Regions from separate parts of the Homo sapiens genome. Here regions 1, 2 and 4 are each linked to region 3. Evidence: promoter capture Hi-C in human tissues and cell types (Jung and others, 2019). All regions are on one chromosome and are shown on one strand. The core of a region is centred on a gene start or on the middle of the fragment in contact, and the rest is flanking DNA. Distances in the headings are between cores, read along the strand shown. Region 1 overlaps PTCH1 (patched 1). Region 2 holds the start of NCBP1 (nuclear cap binding protein subunit 1). Region 3 holds the start of CDC14B (cell division cycle 14B). Region 4 has its middle 9.1 kb from the start of MIR3074.

Region 1 (6,593 bases), core at 939-3,438, 1.1 Mb after region 3:
GATTTAAAATAGATATATATTTTTTCGAAGACAAACATTTTTACATTATTTTGGTGACAAAGGTTTCAATTTTTTTCCCCCGCTGGTTTCTTATTTATCTTTTTGGCAAGTTCCAAATCCTGCTATTTGGAAACACTTTAACCCTAAACACCACTTTGGGCATCCCTTACCTTACAAGAGGGTAGTAGGGGAGGGTAGAGGTGACTAGGTAGATAATTCAAACCAAAATACCTGGAGCATTCCTCCGGACAGCATGTGGAAGCTGAAGAGTTATGCGCATAATCGCTTCAGTGATCCCTTTCAGGATGCTGTTGGAGACCTTGAAGAATATTTCCTTAATCTCTCCTTGTTTGTGAAGATTCAGCTTGCAGAGTTTTGCAAGCCTGGGGTGGAGTTGGAGTATTTAGTTGAGAAGTGACAATTAAAATAATAGTCTACATAATTAAGACAAAACATTCCTGCCTTAAGTAGTTTGGTAATTAATACAAAAGCGTTCTTTGGATTGAATCCATGGAGTAATTTACCTCAGTTCAGCGATTCAGTATCACTGGTAGATAAAAGAAGGGTTTTATCGAGCAGCTATTATGCTCCTAGCAACAAGTTTCTTGAGCACCTATGATGTCCCTAGCACTGTGTTAAGCACCATAAGAGACTCAAGTGTGTGCGACACTGCACAATTTAAAACTATTAGAATTCGATGCATTTGGACTACATTTGGGTTCACAGCTGAAATGGGCTGTGAAAGTTACAAGAGGGTGGTAGGGGGTGGGGGGAGAGAACTGGAGACGGTAGGGGAAGGAGGGCATTTTAGGCATGGGCGGGACACCAGCAGGGGCCCCAGCTGAGGAGTTTGGAAGTGATGTGATTGGCTAGACTGTAGGGGCGCTGCCGTAGATTCTAGGACAGAATAGGGCATGAGGACAGGGAGGGCCGCTGCCGTAGATTCTTGGACAGAATAGGGCATGAGCACAGGGAGGGCCGGCTCATCCACCACTTGATCCAACCTGTATTTGTTGCCATCGGATGAGGATGACAAAACGTGATTTTGTGGTGTTCTTAGCAAGAGTTTTCAGTGGACCTTTGACATGTTGAAGGAGATAGAATGTGATTTATTTTCTTAACATTGCATATTTCTGGAAATAACTTGCTTTCTGCATAACACGACCCATTTCAAGTCCTGGAAGGAGATGCAGTGTGCTTCCTAGCAGTTTTATGGGAGCTGCCAGTTGTGTAGTGAGAGGGAGTAAAGTTTTTCTTTTTCAATGGACTGGATGAGGACACTTCTGAGGGGCACACTCACTTTGCTTACTTTTGGCAGTTTCAGCATGACTCACTGGTCTTGGGCCAAATGTTATTTACTCAGTACTAATACTGTCACTTGTTGAGCAACTGCCATGTACCAGGCATTTGTTATATATTATCGCATGCCTTACGATTCAATAAAATAGCTATTATTATCTTTTTTTTTTTTTTTTTTTTTTTTTTTTTTTTTTTTTTTTTTGAGACGGAGTCTCGCTCTGTCGCCCAGGCCAGACTGCGGACTGCAGTGGCGCAATCTCGGCTCACTGCAAGCTCCACTTCCTGGGTTCACGCCATTCTCCTGCCTCAGCCTCCCGAGTAGCTGGGACTACAGGCGCCCGCCACCGCGCCCGGCTAATTTTTTGTATTTTTAGTAGAGACGGGGTTTCACCTTGTTAGCCAGGATGGTCTCGATCTCCTGACCTCATGATCCACCCGCCTCGGCCTCCCAAAGTGCTGGGATTACAGGCGTGAGCCACCGCGCCCGGCCCTATTTTGTTTTTATAACATGATAGTGGATGTAATGTCTTTATGATGAGGATTGTCCCATTTTACAGATGGGAAACTATGGGTTGTCTGTTTGTCTCCAGGTCTACTTTGCCTACTAATGACATAAGTCACTTGTTCTGTTGCCCTGTCCTTGATCTCTCATTCATTCATTCATTCATTCATTCTGTGCTAGATTCTCCCCCTAGAGAAGAAGCGACAGTTTCATAAATGCAGATAGACCCAACTAGAGAGGTGACTATACAACAGTAGCCATATAGATTTAATTTCATTTTCAAAGCAGAAGTGATTGTGTAGAGATCTTGTTTGTGACAGAGTGAGCTGAGTGTTCACGTCAGCAGTAAGTAGTGTGAGCATTTGCATTCAGGAGTAAGATTTCCCTGCTGTCCTATACCTCAGTGGACGTCCGTGAATTGAAGTGAGTAATAGCTCCACATTTAAGTTCATTTTGTGCATCAGTCTCATAGATAAATTCCTCATCACTATCAGCAAAGAAATCTGTTAGATGCTGCTTTCTTGGTAGGTTGTTCTTAAGGTTCTAGACATGAATTTTTATATGAACTGGGCATCAACAGAGTGCTTGCTACACAAACGAAATGGATAGAGGTAGCATATTGCCCTAGTTAGAAAACAACAGAAGAGAGGAAAGTATGAGATTTTAAGGGGAGAGGGATGCTGAGGGATAGTTTGGAAGAAGCTCCTTCTCCTGCGGTTTAAAATCACAGGAGCGTGTGTGTGTATGCACATTGTCTTATTCTGCATATCCTCCTATCTGCCAAAGGCATGTTAATGTTATCTTTTTAATACAGCCAGCAAATTAAAGGGATCCACTCGAAAGGCTGTGTCTTCAAATTGACTTTCATGCTTTGTTTAACATGCTGGGGAAATGTGGCTTTATAAAGAGTTGGCTTTATAAAGAGGGCAGAATACATCAGCCACAATGTGCAGACTAATATATGCTAGATGAGAAAGAGTCCGTGTGTGTGCATGCGCGTGTGTGTGCGTGTGTAGGAATTGGTGATAAGAATTATTGTATTCTGTTGTTAAAATGTCCATATAATGATTGCCTTTTAATAAACTGTCAATTATATGTTAAGATACCAGCTTGAGTTTTAGGGTTATAGTGTTTGCTAATCAAAATTGTCAAATCAGTTTCACATATGTGCGGAGTAATGAGGTTTGATAGAGAATATGTTGACTGATGTAGTGGACATCTGCTGTTGCAGAAACACATGACCATGGCAGCAAGGTGGGGGAGAAACTAATTGTCATTGTATAAAAATAGAAGCGTTCATTCTGCACATGTTCTCAGTACCTACTCTGCACCACCATTGCAGAAAGCTCTCCAGAGAGATGTTGGTGAAAAGCCACAGTCTCTGCCCTCAGGGGAACTCCATCCAAACATTCAGCAGGTACACGGACTGGTGTGTGGGTAGTTAACATGAAGGACAGCAGTGCCAAGATGGCAGGAAAATCGGGGACATCTTCCAGGATGGCCTCAAGGGTGGAGGCCTGAGCTAGGCACAGGGGCTGGAGGGGAGAGGGTAGGGGGCATTCAGGGCAGAAGGAACAGCATAGGCAAAGGCTCAGAGAACAGGAATGTGGCCTCCTGGAGGGCAGCCTCCCTTTGTGGGTCGTTGAGGTTGGGTGGGAGCCTGGAAGCTGGGCTCGTCCCTCAGGGCCATTTCACAGAAGTCTCCCTGCTTGGCTGGGGGCTGTCAGCTCTTCCTACTAGCCATCCCTGTCTCACGAGTGTGCTCACGTGTTGGCCTCTAGTGTTTTCCCTGGAGCCACGAATGCTTCACCTGGATCTCACCTTTCTGGGCACAGACTGGTGTTATTTTTAATCTTGCCTGTTTCTTTGTTGGTATTTCCTTTTTGTTAAGCAGTTTTAACCCATCTCCCTCAGTATCTATTTCTTTTCATATCAGCCCCCTCACTGCAGCCCTCCCTCAGAACAAGTTTCTTGTCAAGCTTCTCCAGCGATAGAACATTCATTTATTTCTTTGAGCTTTTTGTTTTTTCTAAAAGCTTGCCCAGCTCCTGGCCTCCTTTTCTGCAGAGGGCAGCAGCCTTGTAATGAATCCATATTGCTTTGGTGTTTGGATGTTAACATTGCTGCAGGCCAGCGTCAAGGAAGAAGGAGGCAAGTTGTGACTTTGACTTTTTTTTTTTTTTAAGAAAAATAGAAGAAATTGTTTTTTAAAATACATGCTTGGTATGTGTAAGTGCTTTCAAGTTTGTACCTTGCTAGTGTTAATGCTTTCAGTGTTCTTGAACTCAGGCAATCAGTTGTAGGAGATAACTGAGTTTCACCACTCCTTCAATTTGGAGCAAGGTCCCTCAACCTCAGGACTATTGACATTGGGGCTGGATCATCCTCTGTTGTTGGGGGCTGTTCTGTGCACTATAAGATGTTTAGCAGCATCCTGGTTTCTACCTACTAGATGCCAGTAGCACCCTCCCAGTTGTGACAACCAGAATGTTTCCAGTCATTGCCAGATGTCACTGGGGGAGAGGGTGTCCCAAATCATCACGATTGAGACCCACTGGTTTAGATGATAAAAAGATTTTGATTGGAAGACTCATGCTGTGCAGATGGAAGACGTTTATTATGATGGAGTTGTGGCTACAATGCATTGCAGAGATGCAAGAGTATTAATCTTCTTTAAGATAACTCCCCCATCCCATTCCTGTATTTATAGACCCAGATAACTATTTTTCTTAGAATGACATTAAATGTCAAAGAAAAACACCGTGATGGGTCGAAAGAGGAAAGAGGCCATGGAAGAAAGAAATAATTTATATTTGGGTACCTTTTGGTGGGGGGTATCTAAATTTGCAGAAAGACTGGTTGCACCTCAACCCCAGTAGCCTGAAGGTTTTTAGCATGGTTGACTTTCTGAAAAGCTTTAATAGAAGACACCACTGCCTTTGTGCATATTGAAATAACAGCTCCTTCAGAAGCCCGGCTAGTGTGTGAACTCCTTGGTGGTCTCATTCTCCTCCAGATGTTTCTGTCACAAACCACTCCCCCTTGTCCCCCCAGGAGCCCTTGTGGAGCAGAACCAAGGGACAGCAAGGGACCAGTCCCAGCCAGAAGGGCAGAATGGATTCTGCTGTCACTGCCCTTCCACAGTGAGCACCTGGTTTCTTTTCTCTGGGGTTGCCATTGTGGGGGCATTTCACAAGGGACAGGAAGAAAAATGCAGCTCCTTTCTGCTCCCTGGACCCCCATACATGGTTTAGAAGGGAGAATATGTTTATAGGTATTTATTAGTTTCTACTACTGGGTATGCACATTTAGGTGGAAGCAGTTGTGATATTTCTTTCATATTTGGAGAAAAACGATTGGAAATGAGAAGCCACCAATGATTGTTTAAAAAAGAACAAATAGCCCTCAGGTGTCTTCTACACAGGGCAGTTGACCCTGCGAATCCTCCCTATCTCTTTGCTGTCTGCCATTCTTGACCCTTCACCAAGTTGAGAGGACAGGTTGGGTAATGGGGTGTTTCAGATACATAGGATGCCGCTCAGAGGTTCCAGAAGATGACAGCTTCCAGATGTATGAACAGCCTGATCCGTGTGTTTAGATTATGCACCACAGCTGATGCCGAGATTAATGCTGGCTGGACAAGCCATGGGAGATTTGTCTGGTTTCCACAATGCCATGTTTATGTTTCATTTGAGTTTCTCCTTCAAAGCTGACCTGCCTGTGACCCTGGGCTCTGTCCACTCGGGCAAGCTGAAACTCGGGCAAGCTGAAACTCGTCTGCCCTGTTCTCCTGCTTGTATTGGGGTAGGGGAGAGTCACAATTGGGCGGAGAAAGGGGCGCTTTGGTGGCCGCCTTCTGCCTCACCATGCCAGCTATCTGCCCAGATTTAGCCCCTGATGAGTGTTCAGTTCTCCTCGGGGATGTGTTTCACTGTAAAAGGTTTTTTGGCTTTTAAAACAAATATGGAAATATTATAAAATAACTGTAAAGGGGACCAGATTTAATAGAAGCCACTTTGCATAAATGTAGTATTTTAACTTCTGGCACTCTTTTGACACTATTTAGGGGGAGAAAAAGTTGAGGGAATTTCAGCTATGTCAGACACCCCCACATAATAACCATGGCTGTGTCATCCTATTATAATACTATTAATGTTTCCTGTGCCCCTCGCTGGCTCCCAGAACCTCTGCTGCCTCCTCCCTCTCTCCCCTGCCCCCTTCCCTCCTGCCCCTTCTCCCGCCCACCCACTCTAACCTGCCCACGTCATTTCCTTCCAAGTGGATCTCTGCAGTTACTAGTGTGAACTCTGAAATGGTAGTAAGTCTGGCTAATCACAACCTAAGAGGAGGGAATGAGAACATTTATTATTTCAAGCCAGCTGTGGGAGATACTAGATACAGAGCTGCCATTTGCATCCTTGGCATTCTTATTTTGGTTAGGGTTGGTTCCAAGACCACACTCTTTGATGGGCTCTTGGCAGAAGATGTGATTCCCCTGTTGAAGAATCATGACTTTTTTTAATGGACTGCTGAGGCAACTTTAAAATCCATTGACAAGTTTCTTCAACCCATACCACACCGCCAGAGAGAGTGGGAAATAAGTCTTGGTCCCCTGTGCTTACCGTGGCGCATGGACAGTGGAAGAACTGGGTTCCCTAGCATTTCTGAGACAGTGAGTGGAGCACAAACCATGGCTTTCCCTCCCAGGTGCCCCACTTCAGGTCTTCCTTGCTTAGAACTCCCACCAAAGCCAGTGGGCACATGGAGCTTGGCTAGATTGAAGACGATGGAA
Region 2 (6,515 bases), core at 481-2,980, 1.0 Mb before region 3:
ACAACGGTATAGTTTATCCTAAATAATGGGAACGACAGTCAGTATACGTATATTCAAAGAAAAGTCCTGAGCACTATATCAAAAAATTGGTGGAAAAAAGGACCACGTTTTACAATTCCTGCTTTAACTAGCTTTTATTAACTGAATTACTGATAACTGCTTTATTTAAAAACCATATCATTCGAATAATCTCTATGTTTTTTAAATCTACCATTCTAAAATCATTACCAAGCATCTGTCTTTTTGATTGCTCAACAATTCAAGTTGAATGAAGGTGTGCTAAAAATTAACCTCAAACACCTGTCTATTAAGACCCTTGCTGTTTGTATCTCTTACCACTTTGTTTAAAGCCTTAACACACTCACCTAAGTCCTTTTGTGGTATAACATAAAGCTTAAAAAATTAAAATAATAGTGTTAAGTATGGAACCTGATGCTGCTGCTAAACACTTTGGCTAGTCTAATACAATCCAATTTTCGACTTCCATTGATTCAATTATTTGGTCGGCATATGGACAAGAAAGCAAGAGCCTGTAACTGTGCAGGGAATCGGTATTAATAATGAAAATCTGCAGTTGGATATATGGTTACACAGTAGCAAGTTACATATAACTTCAATCTTCAGATCTGAACAGCCAAAGGAATTATTGTTACAAAGTTCATAATCACTTACTTGCCTATGGAACACTTGGCTTGAAAATGATGTATGGTGATTCTCATAAAACACAGCACCTGGCTATTCTAAGCTTGGAATGTTAAATCTATTGAATGACTGAAATGATCTTCAGATACCACATGAACTGAAGCTGAATAAAACGAATCTATTACTATCCACATAGGATCTGAGGGGGGGTATTATAAAGGTTACAGGGTAAGACACTCTGTACGTCAACTTCCCAACCCATTAATTACCATGATAACCTGACTGAATGTCCACTGACTATAATTTTGAAAGGATAATGCCACAAAAAGTATAATACGCATGCAGCATGAGAGCTGAGATGTATTTATTCCTGGAGATATCTGCCTGTGTAAAGTTGTAGACATGTGTGGCACAGAGGTTCAGGGACCTTGATTCTTAAGTATAGATCAAACCTAAGTCACAGGACCTATCAAGGTTCCACCACCCAAAGTGCCAAATTTCACACAAAGGTCTTTCATTTCCAGGATTCACTTATTGAAAAAAAGCATAATTGATGTAATATTTACGCAAGCTGCCAGCTAGGACATTCAAATAGCCTTCTTCTACAGCAGTAGTTCTCAACAGGGTGTAGATTTTGCCCCCAGTGGTCATCTGGCAAACCTTGGAGACATTTTTAGTAGTCAAAACTAGGGGAAGCAACTGGCATCTAGTGGGTAGGGGCCAGGCATGCTGCTAAATATCTCACGTTGCATAGGGCATCTCCCAAAACAAATAACTGGCCAAGAATGTCAATAGTGCTGATGTTAAGAAACCGTATTCTAGAAAGCAGAGCTCCTCAGAACCAAATTTCAGTGAGGTTGGGAGAATGCAGATGCTGAAAAACTAGCTGAATGAGAGCAGTTATTTTTTGTTGCTGTTTTTTAAACCTTAAGCACACTGTTCCCTTCTTTCTGGCTCATCTATTTTGCCAACCCTTTATTCCACCTCTACAGTCTTCCTAACTTAACTTTCCAGCTGGCTTGTTCCAGTTTGGAATCATACCACAGCCTTTAAAGCAACCCTCCTAGGCCCTCTTATAAGCTTGAAAAGGGGAAAATAGTGCTGTGGGAAGAGAAGGTATGATTTCTGAGAAACAACTAGAAAATACATGTACATAGTCACATCTCTGAACTGCAAACCCTTTGTTCATTTTGGCTATATTAAAGGACAATATTTGTCTGGAGAATGGGAGGAGGCAGAAAGTATTAAGAGGTAAGAAATGTTCCACTTTCACCTGATAGTTGAGAGACTATAAAGGGGTGAAGACTACAGACAAAATCTGAACTTACGAACAGAAACATGATATTGAACTCATAAGACAACCTGGGTAAGGGAACAGGGAAATGAAATAAAACAATACGAATACAATTTGGGGAATTCGCTCAATGTACCCTGAAGAAAACGTATCTATGGTAGTTCCCAAGGCAAGAACAGATTTTTTATTAAAATTTAACTATGTAAAAGTTTTAAAATGTAAATTAAAGATAACATTACCACTTCACTCAGACAGACTTGGCTAGTATAGAGAAGCAGGTATAAAATCCATCTGAAAGGATCTTAATAAACCAAATAAATTTCCCCTCTATAAGTCAATCCTAATTTTATACGGGTACACTGTACATCTTATAGCCTTACAAGAAATTTTAGACCCACAAAATGGAAAACAAAAACCAACCCTGTAAAATAGAAAAGTAAAGTAACTAAAACCAACAACTTCAACATTACGTTTTTAAACCTTAAGCACACTGTTCCCTTCTTTTTGGCTCATCTATTTTGATATTGAACAACTTGAAAGATAACATGCCTTGAGCCCGCAGACTTAAAACAGGCAACCATCACTTCTGAAATAAACTATACTCTCTCAAAATAACAAATCCTTTCACTTCTATTTTTTTCTTTAGTTAAGTAAAAAAATCAGCCACAGTCCAAAAGACAAGGACCTAATTCTAAGAAGCTTAAATGGGGCTAATACAGCAAATCTGAAATTTTTGTAAATTGCCCAAATTCCCAAAATTGTATTCGTATTGTTTCTAGCTAAGATTTTGAACAATCTAAATACTTTCTTAAAAGAACAAACAATGGACTGCATATCCCATAGTAACTAAAAAGCTTCAGAGACATTTTTAAAGCAAGTCTAAGCAATTAGTTAAGATTTAGCACTGGACTAGTATCCATACACATTACTTTCCATTTAGCATTTCCTTTTCCTTGTTTATAAATGGACTACTACATGAACTTCATTGGTATAGCCTCCTAATCCTACCCCCCTTAATCTTTGATAGTCGAGTCTCAACACAGAAGTATAATTTTATAATCTCCCTATAAGATGCAACCCTCTGCTATCTCTCTAATCTTATCTCCTACAACTTCCCCCTCACTCACTCTGCTCCAGCACCACTGGCCTCCTTGCTCTTCTGTTAACATGACAGGAACCCTATAGTCTTCAGGCTTTTGTGCCCATGGTTACCTTTGGATCACAGCTTTTCCCCATACAGCTATATGGCTGCTACCTTACCTCCGGCAAGTCTTTGTTCAAATGCCATTCACACCGAAGCCTTCTCTAATCAACTTACATAAAATAGTAACTTCTCCCTCACAGAAATCTCTCCCCTCTTTACCTGGTATCACTCCATAGCGCCTGTCACTATATGATACACTATACTTTACTTGACTGTCTTCTCTCTACTCTAGAGGGGAGGCTCTATCTTTATATTGTCCACTGCTGTATGGCAAGTAATTAGGACAGAGCTTGGCACTGTTAAGTATTTGTTGAATAAATGATTTTATATATATATATATATATATATATATATATATATATGTATTACTTTCCATATGCTTGCTTCTATATATACAGTATATAATTATATGTAAAATATATATTAGAGTATATATTTATATAAAACTTATAATAAACAAACTTATATAATATATAAATATAAATTTATAATATATAAATATAAATTTATATAATATATAAATATATATAATACATTCTATTATAGTTTATATATATACACACACTCTATATATAGAGAGTCAAGCATACGGAAAGTCAGGGCAGTGACTGACAGCAGCTGACAATTGTCCAGAAATGCTCAGATGCATCTATTTAATTCTGACTGTAATAATTCCTACCCTATTTTAAAATAGCCTTCTATAATCCTTAAGCTTCTAAGATTTATTTTTTAAAAAATAGATTTTTAACTAAAAGGAAAGCATCCAAAATAATCTGATTCAGATCACTGTGTAGGGTAAACTCCAGCGATCGTTATCCAAATTGTGGCAACTGACAAAAATTTCAGATTTGCTGTATTATCAAACATGAATTGTATCTGCCTCTCCCACACTAAAATATCAACCATAAAAACCTTTGCTTAATGAATGCTTTGTTTTACTTGTCTTATTTACTCTGAGGTTCTCGCGGCAAGACCCAAATGGACAGTGATTTGGCTGCCAGCTGGTGTTAAAAACAAGCCAACTCCAAGAAAGTTATGTAAGTCTCCCAATAACCAAAGCAAAAGTTATTTTTCTACATATTAGCATTCCAATTCTCTAGGATGCCCTACAATGACATTTCCTCTCTCTTTAGGGATTACCTCTAAGTGAGAAAAAGGAAGCATTAGAACAACAAAGAAAAGAACAAAAGACTCAAGTTCTCCAGCCCCCAAGTAATGACTTGAGAAGTATATTAGTTTTTGACTAGTCAATTACAAAGCATATGAAAATTGTATTATCGGCGGGCGCAGTAGCTCACATCTGTAATCCCGGCACTTTGGAAGGCCGAGGCGGGTGGATCACCTGAGCTCAGGAGTTCAAGATCAGCCTGGGCAACGTGGCGAAACCCCGTCTCTACAAAAAATACAAAAACAAAAAAAAAATTAGCCGGGCGTGGTGGCCCGCGCCTGTGGTCCCAGTTACTTAGGAGGCTGAGGTGGGAGGATCACTTGAGCCTGAGAGGCGGAGGTTGCAGTAAGCCGAGATCGCGCCACTGCACTCCAGCCTGACAAAGAATGACACTCCGTCTCAGAAAAAAAAAAAAAAGGGAGGGAATTGTATTTTCTGTGCCTTGTACAGAGGTTACACAAGAAACCTCGTGTTAGAAATCAAAGCACGCAGCATAGTTATTTAATTTATACCTGTGTAGTGAAGAGAGCCCCGGACTGGATTCGCTCTTGCTGGTGTTTGGGAACTGACAGCTGTCCCTCCATCTTAGTTATGCTCAGTCTCTAGACCCTTAGGTGTCAGATAGAAAGCTGGACTAGAATATCCTCTCAAGCCATTCCTTCGTAGAAATCTGGTGTTTCACTATTAAAACTAAATGCATGCGATTCTGCCTCCACCTCAACTGCCACAACACTCAAGGAGAGACAAACGTTAGTAGATAAAATTTACTCAATTTAAAATGTCTGTTATGGGTTTTTTTCTTACATTGACAGCATCTGCTAACGTTTACCGCCTCTTAAGCGTTGGCAAATGATAAAACATCATTGTTGCTGATGTGTATTACCTCATTTAACCTTCACAAAAACCAGAAGATATAAATATCATTACTTCTGTATTACAGACTAAAGTTTAAGGAGATTTCATAACCTGGACAAGATCACCAAGTAAATGGTAGGGTCTGGCTTTGAACCTAAACCCTCTGGTTCCAAAGTCTCATCTCTTAACCACTACTATACACTCTCTTCAAAAAACAATACACTAAAATGTTAACAATAGAATTACTCTAAGTTTTACTTTTTTGGTGTGTGGATTTGTGTTTTTGACCGATTGTAAGGCTTATGTGTAATATAAGCATCTTTTTTTTGTTGTTGTTAAAACTAGAATTATTCCATCTTTATGAAGGCAACACTGATCTCCACGAGCACAATCATCCAAACGGAGATGGGAACCCCTGTTCTAACTCTCTCAGAGGCCTGAAGTTAGTTTTCTAGCACTCTCTCTCACACAAGGGAAATGCGCTTACGGCCAGTTCAAAATCTGCAGTAACCTGTGTCTGTTTATTAGGGACCTCTTGGGCGCAGGTAAGACAATATTCTTTCCCTGCAGCTTGAAAGAAGTGAAATCAACGGATAACCACTACCGGAACAGAGTTCAGACTGCAACTCATGAGATCTCTCAGTCCTTTCCTTCAGTGAATTCTTCCGAGCCCTTTTCAGGTGCAGCTTTGAAGGTTAAAACGAGACACTAGGACCAGTGGGTCCCTAAGAGGCGGCAGCACAGACACAGGTGTGCTTCCCTGCTCCGTGGTTTTACGGACGAAATTCTGAAGCATCCTTAGAGACCAAGGGTCTACCCATGGGGTTCACCAGGCCTTCTTTCCCGAGGATCGGCCCTTGACTCAAAGAACTGGGGCGGGGGAGAAGTCGCTTTCTAGAAGCCGCCCGACCACACCGCCACCATATTCTCCTCTTTCCCTCCGCGGCTCCCCGCACGTTCCCGGGGAGAAGAGCTTCCAGTCTCTTCCGTGGACACCCAAAGACGCCGAGCCTCGGCTCCCAACCGGGAGCGGCCTCCGTGGCCGGGCCGCAGGCACTCACCGTCGTTCTCGTCGCTGTGCCGCCGCCGCGACATGCTGCCCTCCGGTGCGCCGCGGAACCGAGAGGCCAGGCGGTAAGCGCTGCAGGAACTGTCTGGCCGCTGGCCGACGCAAGGACAGCTGCAAGGCGCGCGGATGGGCCGGCACGCAGGCGCACTAGCTCGCCACGGCCCCGGAAGCGCAGGAGAGGCCGCCGGGTGGGGCTAGGCGCTGCGACAGCCGGCGTGAGGAAGCTCAGTGGGCTACGAACGTCTGGCACACATGCAACCGCCCCCTCGGGCTGCCTCCGCCT
Region 3 (6,112 bases), core at 2,354-4,853:
CTCAGTACTCGAGCCACGTGTGGTTCTGTATCCTGGGTTTCCAAACCAAACTCATTTAGTGACCTAGGGTAACTGCCATGACCTCTCAAATGAGAATACCACGGAACAGGGCATGAGTATGAAGCCCCTAGCATGTCTAGTATTTGCTGGTAGCTCAACAAACATTCATTCCTTCCATTTTTATGGTTCTAAAAGATTTTCATCTTAAGGGGCATGAACATGGCAGACTTCAGATTAATGTTGGGATTGCCAGGATAGCCAATGAAACAAAACCAACTCTTTTTTTGTTTGTTTGTTTGTTTGAGACGGAGTCTTGCTCTGTGGCCCAGGATGGAGGGCAGTGGCGTGATCTTGGCTCACTGCAACCTCCGCTTCCCAGGTTGGAGCAATTCTCCTGCCTCAGCCTCCCAAGTAGCTGGGATTACAGGCACGTGTCACCACGCCCAGCTTATTTTTGTATTTTTAATAGAGACAGGGTTTCCCCATGTTGACCAGGCTGGTCTTGAACTCCTGACCTCAGGTGATCTGCCCGCCTCAGCCTCCCAAAGTGCGGGGATTACAGATGTGAGCCACCACGCCCGGCCAAAACCAACTCTTTTTATATATGAAAGTGAAGACTTCAGTGTGTGCCCGTTTTCCCATATGACTGCCACCTAAGCCCTCTAGTTTTATGGAAATTTAACCTCTTATGGAACGTACCATATTTATCAAATTTAACTTTTTATGAAATTAACCAACTTATGGAAATTGACTTTGTACAACTTATTTATCTTCACATAATTAAAATTGTAATTCACGGATTCTGAAACTTACATTATTTGAAATTCATATCACGTCTCTATCAACCAGTTGCTACTGATTTTAGCGTAAGATTTCACATTTTCAGAATATGCTCTATCTGGAATATACATATAAGAAAATGTTCCGCCGGGCGCGGTGGCTCATGCCTGTAATCCCAGCACTTTGGGAGGCCGAGGAGGGCGGATCACAAGGTAGGAGATCGAAACTATCCTGGCTAACACGGTGAAACCTCGTCTCTACTAAAAATACAAAAAATTAGCCGGGCGTGGTGGCAGGCGCCTGTAGTCCCAGCTACTTGGGAGGCTGAGGCAGGAGAATGGCGTGAACCCGGGAGGCGGAGCTTGCAGTGAGCCGAGATCGCGCCACTGCACTCCAGTCTGGGCGACAGAGCGAGACTTCGTCTCAAAAAAAAGAAAAGAAAAGAAAAAAAAAGAAAATGTTCCACAGTTGTTTTCATTTCAGGGTAAATTTACCTAGGAAAGATAGGAATATTTTAGAGAATCCCTCCTTTTTTTTTTTTTTTTCCTTTTCATTGTGCTGCCATAATGTTGAGAATCAACCAGACGCATCTGTTCCCTAAGCGCCACAGTTCAGGAAAAGACAAGCCAGATCCTAGAGAGTTTTGGTTCCCACCCCAGCCTGGCCACTGCCACTCATCTGGGTCCCCGTGTCCTCACTGTGAAAGGATAGCCTTGGACCAAATATTGTCTAAGGAGCTTTCAAGCTCTAAAATTCTATGATGAGTCGTCAAGCAATGAACAACAAACTAACCAGGGAAGCAAACTAAAATACATTTCCTGTGGCCAAATTCTCAGAGCCCAGGAGTCAACTTATCAAAGAGGGGGAGGAGTCAAACAGTTCAAGAGCAGTGCCACACACACAAAACAAGTATCAGCTAGGAAACAGCACTTTTCTGCCTCTATCTAAACATGACCTAAAAACAAAATATAAATAGGGTTTAAAACTTTAATGTGTATACTCAGCACACAGACTTCCTATTCACAAGAAGGGAAGATACTTTCGCGTAATTACAAAGTGTAGTCCTATACTTTGTCTGTTCCTACTATACAAAGCATAAAATTATATACTTGCAAAGTATGAAAATATTTAAATGGTATAATTATCTGTATTTATGACACTTTTTTTTTTTTTTTTCTGAGACGGAGTCTAGCTCTGTCACCCAGGCTGGAGTGCAATGGCACGATCTCGGCTCACTGCAACCTCTGCCTCCTGACATTTAAACAAATTACTCTCAAAAGATCATAATGTCATGGAGGTAGTTTCTCTGTACTTCCAGGGAGCCACACGGACCACTCTCCTGTAATATCTATTCAAAACAAGACCCACTCATTTAAAATCCCTGGTAGTCTGGGAAACTGGGTGGCTTTCCAATGCTGAGCCCCTAGGCCGGTCTGAAAGGTCTCCTCCTCCTCCTCCAGGTCAAAACAAAGGACTGTGACCCTACCGTTTCTGCTCTCTAAAACTTACTTGCGCAGCGCCGCACAGCCTCCCACGTCTCTAGCTTCTTTGCTGCCCCTACAGACAGACATGTAGATCATTTTAAATTTAAGGCCTTCACTGATTTCCTTAGGGGAAACAGAGGAAGAGTGAACAGGAGAACCAACCTTAAGAAAAAGTGCTTACAGAGTTGCTGATCTCTAGCTTCAGACACAGCCCCCCTACTTCCTTATTTAGCCGTGCTTAAGGTAAAAGCCCACAACAATAGAAGTCAAAGAGCCCCTTCCTGAGGTGCTCTATGAAAATTTGCATTTCTGAGAGGCTTCCAAGGGGACTGACTCAAATTCATCTTTCTTTTCCCCAGGCTGGCAGTTAACTGCGGAACTGCAGGATAAAACGTTCAAGTGCTGGTGAAAAATAGGGACAGCTTGCAGATGTTGTAAAATTTGGGGCCGTGAAATCTTAACACTGCCCTCCAATCTTCTCACCCTTTTAGATGCTACCATGGACGTTTGTTTAAAGGCCCTCCAAAATGACAGTTTTTGGTTAAGTTCCAGGAAGATAGGGCATTATTTTAATCCAGTAGAAAAAGAAGAGGATATGACCCTACAGTGTGCCAGATAAAGAAGTTTAAGGACAAAACTTGCCCCTTGCTTCAATACTTCATGATATAATCGGACCTGTCGACACCTCAGTATACACAGCAATGAGTGTATAAACTTACTGAATTAATGTGGGCGCTGGATTCCGAGATGAGAAACTCTGAGGTGCAAACAACCACGGTATATTGTGGTTCCACGGAAGTTTCATCGGGTCCTTAAGAAGCCCTTGCTTGGCCTGTTTGAATGCTGGGCATAGGTCGATAAATAGAGCGTAGTTGTTTAAATAGTTTTACTTAAGTTCTGAAATCAACTCTACTTTAAATCTATATAGCTGCAGGTAATGTAATCAGGCCATCCTCTTCCAAGCTGGCAGCCATGGCAAAAGTCCCTTTCTCTTGGCGCGAATTACAAGGAAATTCAAGAAATACTTTAAGATATATATATGCCAAAGACCTGGAGTTAAGTTACTAGGGTGGGGCTGTGTAAATGTTTGGTGACTCACTAAAGAAAGTTGGGATCTGGGGTGCTGGCACCTGGAGGACACAGAAGAAACAAAAGTTGGGGGGCTGGCGAAGGTCGCTAGCACACTTTATCTCTGATTGGCGGAAGCCCTCAGAGTTTTCTTTATGGCGTCACCGAGTACCTGCCTGTAGAAAGGCCCCGTCTCCGTGACGTCACGCCGCATTGGCCAATGAAAGGCCTCAGTCTGCGGGCCCCGAGGAGGGTTGTGGGCCCTTTTTTGTGAATGAAGCGCCACGGAACAGCCCTCCTGGGGTCCCCACGAGCCGCGTCCTGCTGTGCCCCGGCGCCTACGCAGCAGCGGCCGCGGCCGCGGTGGGCACGCACGGTTACCCCGGGCAGCTCCGGCCGCCAGCTGCAGCCCCGTCGCCTCGGCCGCGCCAGCCGGCTGCGGGCACCTGGGGGCGGGCTGGGGGCGCCGGCCGCGGCAGGAGGCGCTGTAGCGAGGGCTGCGGCGCCGGTCCTGCGGCGGCCGCGGGAGGCAGCGGGGCAGGCGCTGTGGGCCGGGCTCCTCCTCCGGCTCCTGCGCGACCGCCTCCCGCCGGGCTCTGCCGGCGCCCGCCGTCCCCGCAGCGCCGCTCTGCGCCCGCCGCCCCGAGCGCCCGCGCGGGGCTGGCGGGAGCCTCGGCGGGCGCGCGGGCGCGCGGGGCCATGGTCGTGGCCCCCTGACGGGCCGCGGCCGCCTCCATGAAGCGGAAAAGCGAGCGGCGGTCGAGCTGGGCCGCCGCGCCCCCCTGCTCGCGGCGCTGCTCGTCGACCTCGCCGGGTGTGAAGAAGATCCGCAGCTCCACGCAGCAAGACCCGCGCCGCCGGGACCCCCAGGACGACGTGTACCTGGACATCACCGGTGAGCCGGCCAGTGGGCGCGCGGAGGGCCCCGGACGGCCGCACCCGGCGCGGGGCCCTGGCCCACCTCCCACCGGGCTGCCCGGGGCCTCCGGGGCCGGGCCGAAATGCCTTCGCCCCCACCCCCTTAAACGCCCCGGCCGCCACACCCCCTTTAGGAGCCTGGCTCCTGAGGAGCGCCCCCCGCCCCGAGTTTCTAGCTGCGTGGGCTGCGAGCTTTAACTTTAGCTTGTGCACCCTCCTCCACCAGCAAGATGGACCGAGGGTCACCTTTCTAAGTTGCGGGCGTCAGCCCGGCGCCTCGAACCTGCAGCTCCTCCCCGCGGGCTGCTTCTGAGTTCCTGTGGATTCCGCCTTCAGGGATTGCGAGCCCGGTTGGCCCTCGCGCGAGTCACAACCTCTGAATCAGCCCCTGAGGATTCCCCGAGCGCGCTGAACGCGCCTGGCACGGGAGCTGCCCCTTTTTGGCGTTGGCCAAACCCCCGCTGCTCCGTAGCCTTGGGACCCTGGGCGCCGCGTTGCCCGTCCGGCGCGTAAGCCCGAGCCCCTCTCCTGGGCCTCCCGCGCCCTGCCCCCTAGCGCGCCCCCCGAACGCCTCCGCCTCCCGGGGTCCGCTCCCCGCCGGGGCCTCGAGAAGGAAGGTGTCACGTTGGTGGCATTCGAGCCAGCCGGCAAGACGAATGTCCGGGTTGTCACTTTTGAGAAATCCCAGCCAGCCAGAGCAGGTAGCCAAGCAGCCCTTCGATAGCTGTTCTGTTAGTGCTGATTCGACTGTTCTTGGAGACTCATAAATCCAATTTGGCAGCTGTTAGGTTTGCTGGGATTGACAGTGACGCGTGTGAAGGCATTAAATGTGATGATGTATGTGGCAACGCTGTGTAAACAGCAGAGCTGTCCACGATTTTGAGGGAATTGGCAGTCTGTTTTCAGTGGCGGGGAATGTGTCAACCTCGGTGCGTGGCGTTATTAAAAACTGTTTCCAGCCCCTAGCCTTTGATAAACCAGGTAAGCTGGAGTGGCGAGAACATTAAGTGGAAGTGTTTAGACAAACACAGACGTTTAGGAGAAATAATATTCTAGGTTCATGGACAATCTGGAAACTAAGTTCGTTTTGAAATGAAGCTGAGAGCAGAGCGGGTTTCTCGGCTTTGGTGGATGGCCCTTGGGAACCAGAGCGGGCATAGGAAGGGGTTGCCCTGAGTACCAGTCCCCGGCCGGTAGCTGCGGGGGGTGTGCGGGAGGTGAAGCCTGCTGAGACTGAGAAGCCAAGTCCCGCTAACGTTGTGCCCTTCCCAGGAGAGGGCCTCGCCGAGGACGGATGGGGCTGGGAACGGGTGGGCCTATACATAGTTTCTGCCCGTTATTGTTTATACCTCTTGAAAGGATCTGTGTTGAATGGGATTTAATTTTAGGACAAGTAATGCATTTACATGGTACAGAACTCCAATTCTAAAGGTGCACAGGAGTACGTGCAGAAAAGTTGGTCTCACAGTCTCCAAGTGTCCTTCTCTAGAGGCAACTACTCTTCCCAGTTTCTTGTGAAGCCTTCTAGAAATAGGCTGTGCATGCATACTATATATACTATATATTCTCTACCATACACGTGCGAGTAGCACACATGTTGTTTTGCACATTTTTCCGTTTTCATAGTGTTTCTTATTAGAATGATTGTTCTGAGTTGGTGCATATAAGACTGGCTTACTTGATTTTAATTACTGCTTAGGCCAATGTACATACGGTTTTATGAATAAAACCATTAACAAGTACGTATGGATTTAAATGTTTATGTAGATTTGAATGTTTTTTAACCTATTTAGACAGTCCCTGTTGATGAACATTTGGGTTTTCAATCAGAAGGTTTGTGACAGCAAAGTCATTGGAATAAA
Region 4 (6,242 bases), core at 1,708-4,207, 1.5 Mb after region 3:
ATGGGAGGAAGCCGAGTTTTCTGTTGAAGTGGAGAAGTTACGAATGGGGTCTTGACAGGGAAGCCAGAGAAGAAGGGACCTTGGTGAGCCTGGCAGAGTGAATCCACCCAAAATGCTGGGAAGTCAAAACCGAGCCTGGCCTTACGCTGCCCAGAGGACGGCGGATGCACTGGAGGATTTGCACAGTGGGAGCAAATGTGAGGAATGTTCTCCTTATTCAACAAGGAATCCAAAATTTTTTTGCTTTCCAAGGAAGAAGAGAAACAGTTCCCCGTGCTTCTCCCCTCGCCTTTTTCTTCCTCTGTTTCCAGCCCAGGACCACCTCCCCCAGCCCGGGGGCTCGGGTGCTAAAGTTCTTCCCTCTGCCAAATGTTGGGAAATCCGTAGATTTTGTCGAAAAATCCTAAGTCATTAATCATCGCTAAGCCATTTTACAACCAAAGAACAAAAATTAAGATACAGTAAGTACATAACATGTCTTCAAGCCTCCTCCTAAAATCCAGTTCCACAATTGGTTTATACCATGGGTCCAAATCACACCCCTCAAGCCCAAACTGGTAATGGAGAGCTCATAGCAAAGGCCTTCCCTCCCGCTCCTGTCATGGTGTCTTACTGCACTTGCTGTTCTGGGCAGGGAATTTGTTCACCCAGGACTTTTGGTTGCAAGCAACAGAAACGTGCACTGAATGCTGAAAGTAAAGGGGAACTGATGAAAAAGGTATTGGGCTGATGAGGCCTGGTGTGAGCCGGCCAGCAGCAGTCCCAGCCTTGCTTCAGATGCTCTGGCAAGGCCAGTCGTGCTGCCCAGCCCTTCCGGACCCCACTCCAGCCGGGAGAAAGGCCCTTGTGCCCACTCCTTTCCACACCCCTGCCCAGGTGCATCAGATGGAGGAGCCTGGGTCAAAGGCCTGCCAGGGATGCTAGGAAATCACGCATCTGGCTTCAGCTTCTTTAACGTTATTGGGTACCTTGGATACCACCAAAAGCATCACCCAACTACAGGAAGGGGCCAAACACTGGGCAAATGGAGACAATAAAAATGTCTCCAGCTCATTACAGCATCTATACTTTAGCCTATGCCAGAGCATTTTAGAAGGTTGCGTCCCATGAAACAGCCCAGCAGCCAGCACCAGAACAGGCAGAGGTGAGCCTTTTCAGAAAGATGTTTTGTAGGCACCTAAATCTGGGTTTCTTAAATGCAGCACCATGAGCACTTTGGACCAGATGCCTCCCTGTTGTGGGGGTGTCCTGTGCACTGCAGGGTGTTGGCAGCATCCTGGCCTCCACCACTAGGTGCCGGTGCACCCCTTCCACCAGTGGTGACAAAACTTTCTCCAGACATTGCCCAATCCCCTTCCAACCGAGGGTACTGCTGTAACTGCTGGCCTCTCCCTCTGGAACGACATCCTAGACACAGACACTAACGGTTGTAGACACAGCGAATAGACAACCTGATTCCAACATTCATATGGACAGTAAACGTTCATGAACAGCCAGGCAAGCTCTGAAAGTGAAGCGTACCACGCACTGACACATACTTTGGTGTGAGGTTCTCATGAAGGGAAACATGGGTGGGGCTGAAAGGGCCCCCGTGGCTGCAGCCAGCGGCCAGCTCTCAGGCCTCATGGGCCGACCTCCTCCCAGCTCACATGCTCCTCCTCTTCTCCTGACCCCCTCCTGGTGGGCGCCCTTGGACTCCACCTAGAGGCTGGACCCTGTCCTGCCCGTGGCTTCACATGGCATCTCTAGGCAGAGGGACCACACCTGCCCCTGGATCACCGGCCCGGAGAGCCCGCCGCCTGTTGGGCATCACCACTGGCGGTGTGAAGACCCTCTCTGCTTACCACATCCCAGGTGGGCCCACCTGCTCCACCCACCTCCCGCACCCACCAGCTCCCCATGTTGCCGATGGCCATTCCATCCTGCCAGGGACTCAGGGCGAGTTCTGAAGCCACTCTTGACCCCTCCCTTTCTCCCACCTCCACATCCAGCCCGTCGGGGAGCCAGGAAGCTGGCCCTCTGTCACTCCCCGCTACTCACTGCCTAGGTTTCAGACATCATCTCCCGCCGAGTAAATCACGTGTACATGTACAGAATTTAGTATAAGATAAAGACATTGCCATCAACGGGGAAAAGATGGTATCAGGAGTAAAACTGTTACAGAATAAGCTCCCCAGCCCTCTGCCTTTCCCAGCGTCGGCATCTGGAGCATGGCTCGTTCTGGGATCTGTGTGTTCTGAGAAGCCTCTAGCAGTTCCCCTGCTTCGGAGAGGCAGGGAGGCTGCAGCCACTCTGGGGAGATGCTGCATTACTTACTTAGATAAATAAGGATTTCGCTTATAAAATTGAAGCTTCCCTCCTCCCAAAATGCAGAAAGCATTTTCTGGTCTTTCATTTAGAACTTCTTTGTTCCTCAGTGGTTTGCAGATGGTCACACCCTGTCCAGCCCCGGCCACTCCCTCCCGGCCCACCCACACCCCTGCGTGCAGGTCACTGCCTCAGGGCAGACTCTCCAGTCCTTTGGAGGGAGGAAGGGGAGCTGAGAGGATGCCGATCTCACGAAGAGGGGGCGGGACCCAAGGCTCCAGCGCATCCCTGCGGACTTCCATGCCTCCTTTCAGGCCAGGCCGTGGGGACCCCCCACGCATCTCCCTTGGCTGTGTCTGCCACAGGGAACCCTTTCCATGCCCAACGCAAAAGCAAGAAACCACAGGAGAAAAGGTGGGTAAAACTGGCCATACAGAAATCAAAAGCAAACTCACCAAAGTATCTCAATACACATGGTAAACTGAGGGAAGAAGAAGTATTTGCAGCACATGAAAAAAGCGAATTTCCTAACTTCTAAAGCTCTTCTACACATCAGTAAGGAAACAGCTGCCAGCTCGAAACGCACGGGCAGGGACACACACGACACAGGGAACGGGACGGCAGGGGCTTTTCCACAGCGTGGCAGAAGCCCAGGTGCTCCCAACCATCTCCACGGCAGCTTGGGAAACACTCAAGGCTGATGCTCCCCATGCTGATGACAGAGTGCGGAACAGGCAGAGGAAGGGACAGGAAACTGGTACCACCTTTTCGGAGGACAGCCTGTCAAACATCCAAATTTATCAGCACCGTAAGATAGGGTGAAAAAAATCAAAATAGAAAATTGACTCTGGAAACAGTATGGTAACCTAGAACTCTGATCTATCCATTCTGCCTCTAGATGTTTACCCAAAAGAATGCAAAGTAACAGCTGAGGAAATCCTGGACGCCATGTTCCTGGCAGCACTCTCCTGGACAGCCAAGAGGCAGACAGCTGCATCCGCCAGCAGCCAAGCCAGTGCAGAAAGGAAACGTGGTCTGTGTGTATGGCAGGATGGTCCTCAGCCTTAGAAGGCAGAGATCCTACACTTTGGGAGGCCCAGGCAGGCAGATCACGAGGTCAGGAGTTCAAGACCAGCCTGGCCAACATGGTGAAACCCCGTCTCTACTGAAAATACAAAAATTAGCTGGGCATGGTGGCGCACACCTGTAATCCCAGCTACTCGGGAGGCTGAGGCAGGAGAATTGCTTGAACCCAGGAGGCAGAGGCTGCAGTGAGCCAAGATCGTGCCACTGCACTCCACTTGGGCAGCAGAGTGAGACTCTGTCTCAAAGAAAAAAGAAAAAAGAGGCAGAGATCCTGAGCACGCCACAGTATGGAGGAACCTGGAAGACTTTATGTTAAATGAAATCAGCCAGACATAAAAGGACAAAGATTTTATGAATCCTCTCATATGAGCTCCCTAAAACAGGCAAGCCTCAAAGACAGGAAGCTGCATGGTGCTTCCCAGGGACCTGGGGGAGGGGAAGTGGGGCACGAGTGTTGAATGGGTCCCGTTTCACTGGGGAAGATGAAAAAGTTCTGCAGGCGGATCGTGGTGAGCTGCACAACAATGAAGACACCGAGGCTGCTGAGCTGGGTCCTGACACATGGTTATACTGGTCAATCTTATGTGTATTCTGCTGTAATAAAAGCACTAAGATCGAAAAAGATTATATATCCTTTCTCCAAGGAGCAGACACCCAGTTCTCCTGACCCCACTCCCTCCACTGCAGACTGCAGGGATCCACACTAGTGCGCACATCTAGGGCTTTCCCCGTGGATATGCCGGCGCCTGTGCGTGTGCAGGATGCGACAGCCAACAACCACTGGGGCAACTCAGAGGTTCACATAAAGATATAAATGAAAGGAAACAGAGAGGGAGGAAAGGGAGAGAAAGGAGAAGAGCAAGAAAGGGGTGGGGGAGAGAGAGGAACGAGAGAAAAAAAGGAAAAGCCTGCGTGCAAGCAAGTGCACACTCTTACCCTTGAGCCCGGGCCTGCTGTCCACTTCACACACACTGACCCAACAAAGTCAGCTGAAGCTTACAGAGGAGGAAATGCAAACACAGAGAGGCCGAATAATGTGCCCAAGGCTACACTGAGGCCATCTAGCAGGGCTGGGACTTGAACGAAGCCCCCAGAAGGTGGGGTGTCACTGCCTCTCGAGTTACAGCGCGTCCATGCAATGCAGCCATCGACACAGAGAAGCGAGCGTTATGTACGTGCCAATCTAGACCCGTGTGAACACTGTGCCACCCTCCGTGTATAAAGCAGGGCCTGCACACGTGCTTGCCGGCGCCAGGGTGGAGACGGTAATCAACTTCATTATAGTGATTTGGGGAAGAGACTAGCTGAAAAGGCAGAGAAAACTTACTTTTTGTTTACATATTACCTATATTTGTTTGCATGTGTGATCTATGAGAAAAATAAGTTGTTATCAAGTATGCAAAGGAAGACTCTTTGTTTGCTCTAAGAGAGGGCTGCCGTTAAACGCTGCCCTGAAGGGAAGGAGGCCAGGCACCATCTGTAACTTTAAAAGGAGACAGCGCCATCTCTGATCCTTGCACCGTAGTCACCGTGGTGGTGCTTTTGTTTCTTATTCACAGGACTTATGTTCTACCATTGGACAGAATTTTCTAGAAAAAGTCTACTTACTATGACTGGACGCATGTGCCCTGACATTTGTTGGGCCATGACCCAGCTTTCCAAAGACCCATCCTCCATCTGCCAGGGCCCTGTGCTCATCATGGCTTTCCTCCTGTACGCAAGTCCTCTGCCTCAGCTGTGCTAAAACCAAGTTTCTGCAGTCACTTCCTCCACGCTTTTAACTTAGTAAAGCAGATACAATCATCAAACTATAGCTCCTTCCCCATAAATTATCTGTGTTTTCTTTACAACCCAACATAAATGCACACTTGTTCCATTCCATCAGCAATCACTGAAACGGACTCCGGCCTCATCTCTGAGTTATGCCGTAATTCATGTTCTTCCTGAGCCTCCCTCCCTAAACATAACTGCAGCTGAAGTCCCTGGGGACTTAAATCATAGGGTCAGAATGCAGAAACCTCAGGGATCACGGGTGAAGAGTGTGGTGTCTTAGCCACAGAGGGCTTCCTTGACTCCTGCCTTTCAGAGCTCGCCATGAGCGTCCGATCCAGTCGTCAGGAAACGCACTTCTGTTCTGTCAGACCTCGTTGTGGCAAGGGAGGACTATGAGAGCAGAAAGGAACTTTCTGGAACTCAGGACTCTTGGCAGTGAGTCAGGGTCTGACCATGGGCAGCTTCAGCACCCCACCCACACCCCGCTGGCAAAAGCACCTCCTCGGCTGCGCTTTAAAGTGGCGGACAGATTCCACAAAGGCCCAGGCTGAAAGAAATTACAGGCAGAAGGAGCACAAAGAAAGCTTAAGAAAATGGAAACCACAGGGTGCACACCCAGTCGCCTCTGTGCCCCAGACAAAGCCACAGATGAGCTGTCTGGGCAGGCGGCCCCAGGCAGGATCAGAGCTGGGCACTCCTCTCCCAGGTGGGGAGCCTGTGGGAGACTCAGAATGGACAGTCCCCCTGGGAGCAGCCCCAGGCCCGCCCCCAGGCCCCACTCAGCGACTGCCAGGGTCAGGTAGGGGTGGCAGAGCAGCCAGATGCTGGGTGGGCCCAGGCGGGGGTGGGAGGCTCTGGTCTTTACAGCAGCTCCCCCTGGGCCCACCCCCTTTAAGTCCTGGGGCTGAGAAGCCAAACCCTGACCTTGTTTTATCTCAACAAACACCGCAGGGACCGGTCTGGTTCCTTGTAAGCTGTTGGGACTAGACAGAACTGTGTGGTCAGAGGTCTTTCTCTGCATTTCTGCATTTAGCCCTGCACTGCCTCTCCCTACTAGTGTGTGTGTGTGTGCACAC

What was found. Contacts are between HindIII fragments. The study calls those that stand out against the background at their distance.
Region 1: a contact is called between a fragment that was not itself captured here and the fragment with the promoter of CDC14B in region 3, in 1 of the 25 tissues and cell types used here (dorsolateral prefrontal cortex).
Region 2: a fragment that was not itself captured here is called in contact with the fragment with the promoter of CDC14B in region 3 in 1 of the 25 tissues and cell types used here (spleen).
Region 4: a fragment that was not itself captured here is called in contact with the fragment with the promoter of CDC14B in region 3 in 1 of the 25 tissues and cell types used here (dorsolateral prefrontal cortex).

What each region holds. Positions count from the first base shown.
Region 1 is chr9:95,498,931-95,505,523 of GRCh38, reverse strand. All of the region lies in intron 2 of PTCH1 (patched 1), which reads left to right. Among named protein-coding and RNA genes, the nearest start is that of PTCH1, 7.0 kb to the left of the region's middle. The HindIII fragment of the contact is 6,964 bases long and covers 1-5,670 here.
Region 2 is chr9:97,633,625-97,640,139 of GRCh38, reverse strand. NCBP1 (nuclear cap binding protein subunit 1) reads right to left here and starts at 6,319. Exons shown (of 23, transcript NM_002486.5): 1 at 6,225-6,319. The coding sequence starts at 6,258. RefSeq lists enhancers at 5,822-5,901, 5,459-6,294, 6,459-6,515. The HindIII fragment of the contact is 3,183 bases long and covers 139-3,321 here.
Region 3 is chr9:96,617,334-96,623,445 of GRCh38, reverse strand. CDC14B (cell division cycle 14B) reads left to right here and starts at 3,603. Exons shown (of 14, transcript NM_033331.4): 1 at 3,603-4,227. The coding sequence starts at 4,068. RefSeq lists an enhancer at 3,952-4,452. The HindIII fragment of the contact is 32,033 bases long and covers 1-6,112 here.
Region 4 is chr9:95,092,078-95,098,319 of GRCh38, reverse strand. It overlaps a transcript of AOPEP not described here. Among named protein-coding and RNA genes, the nearest start is that of MIR3074, 9.1 kb to the right of the region's middle. RefSeq lists an enhancer at 6,118-6,242. The HindIII fragment of the contact is 4,225 bases long and covers 845-5,069 here.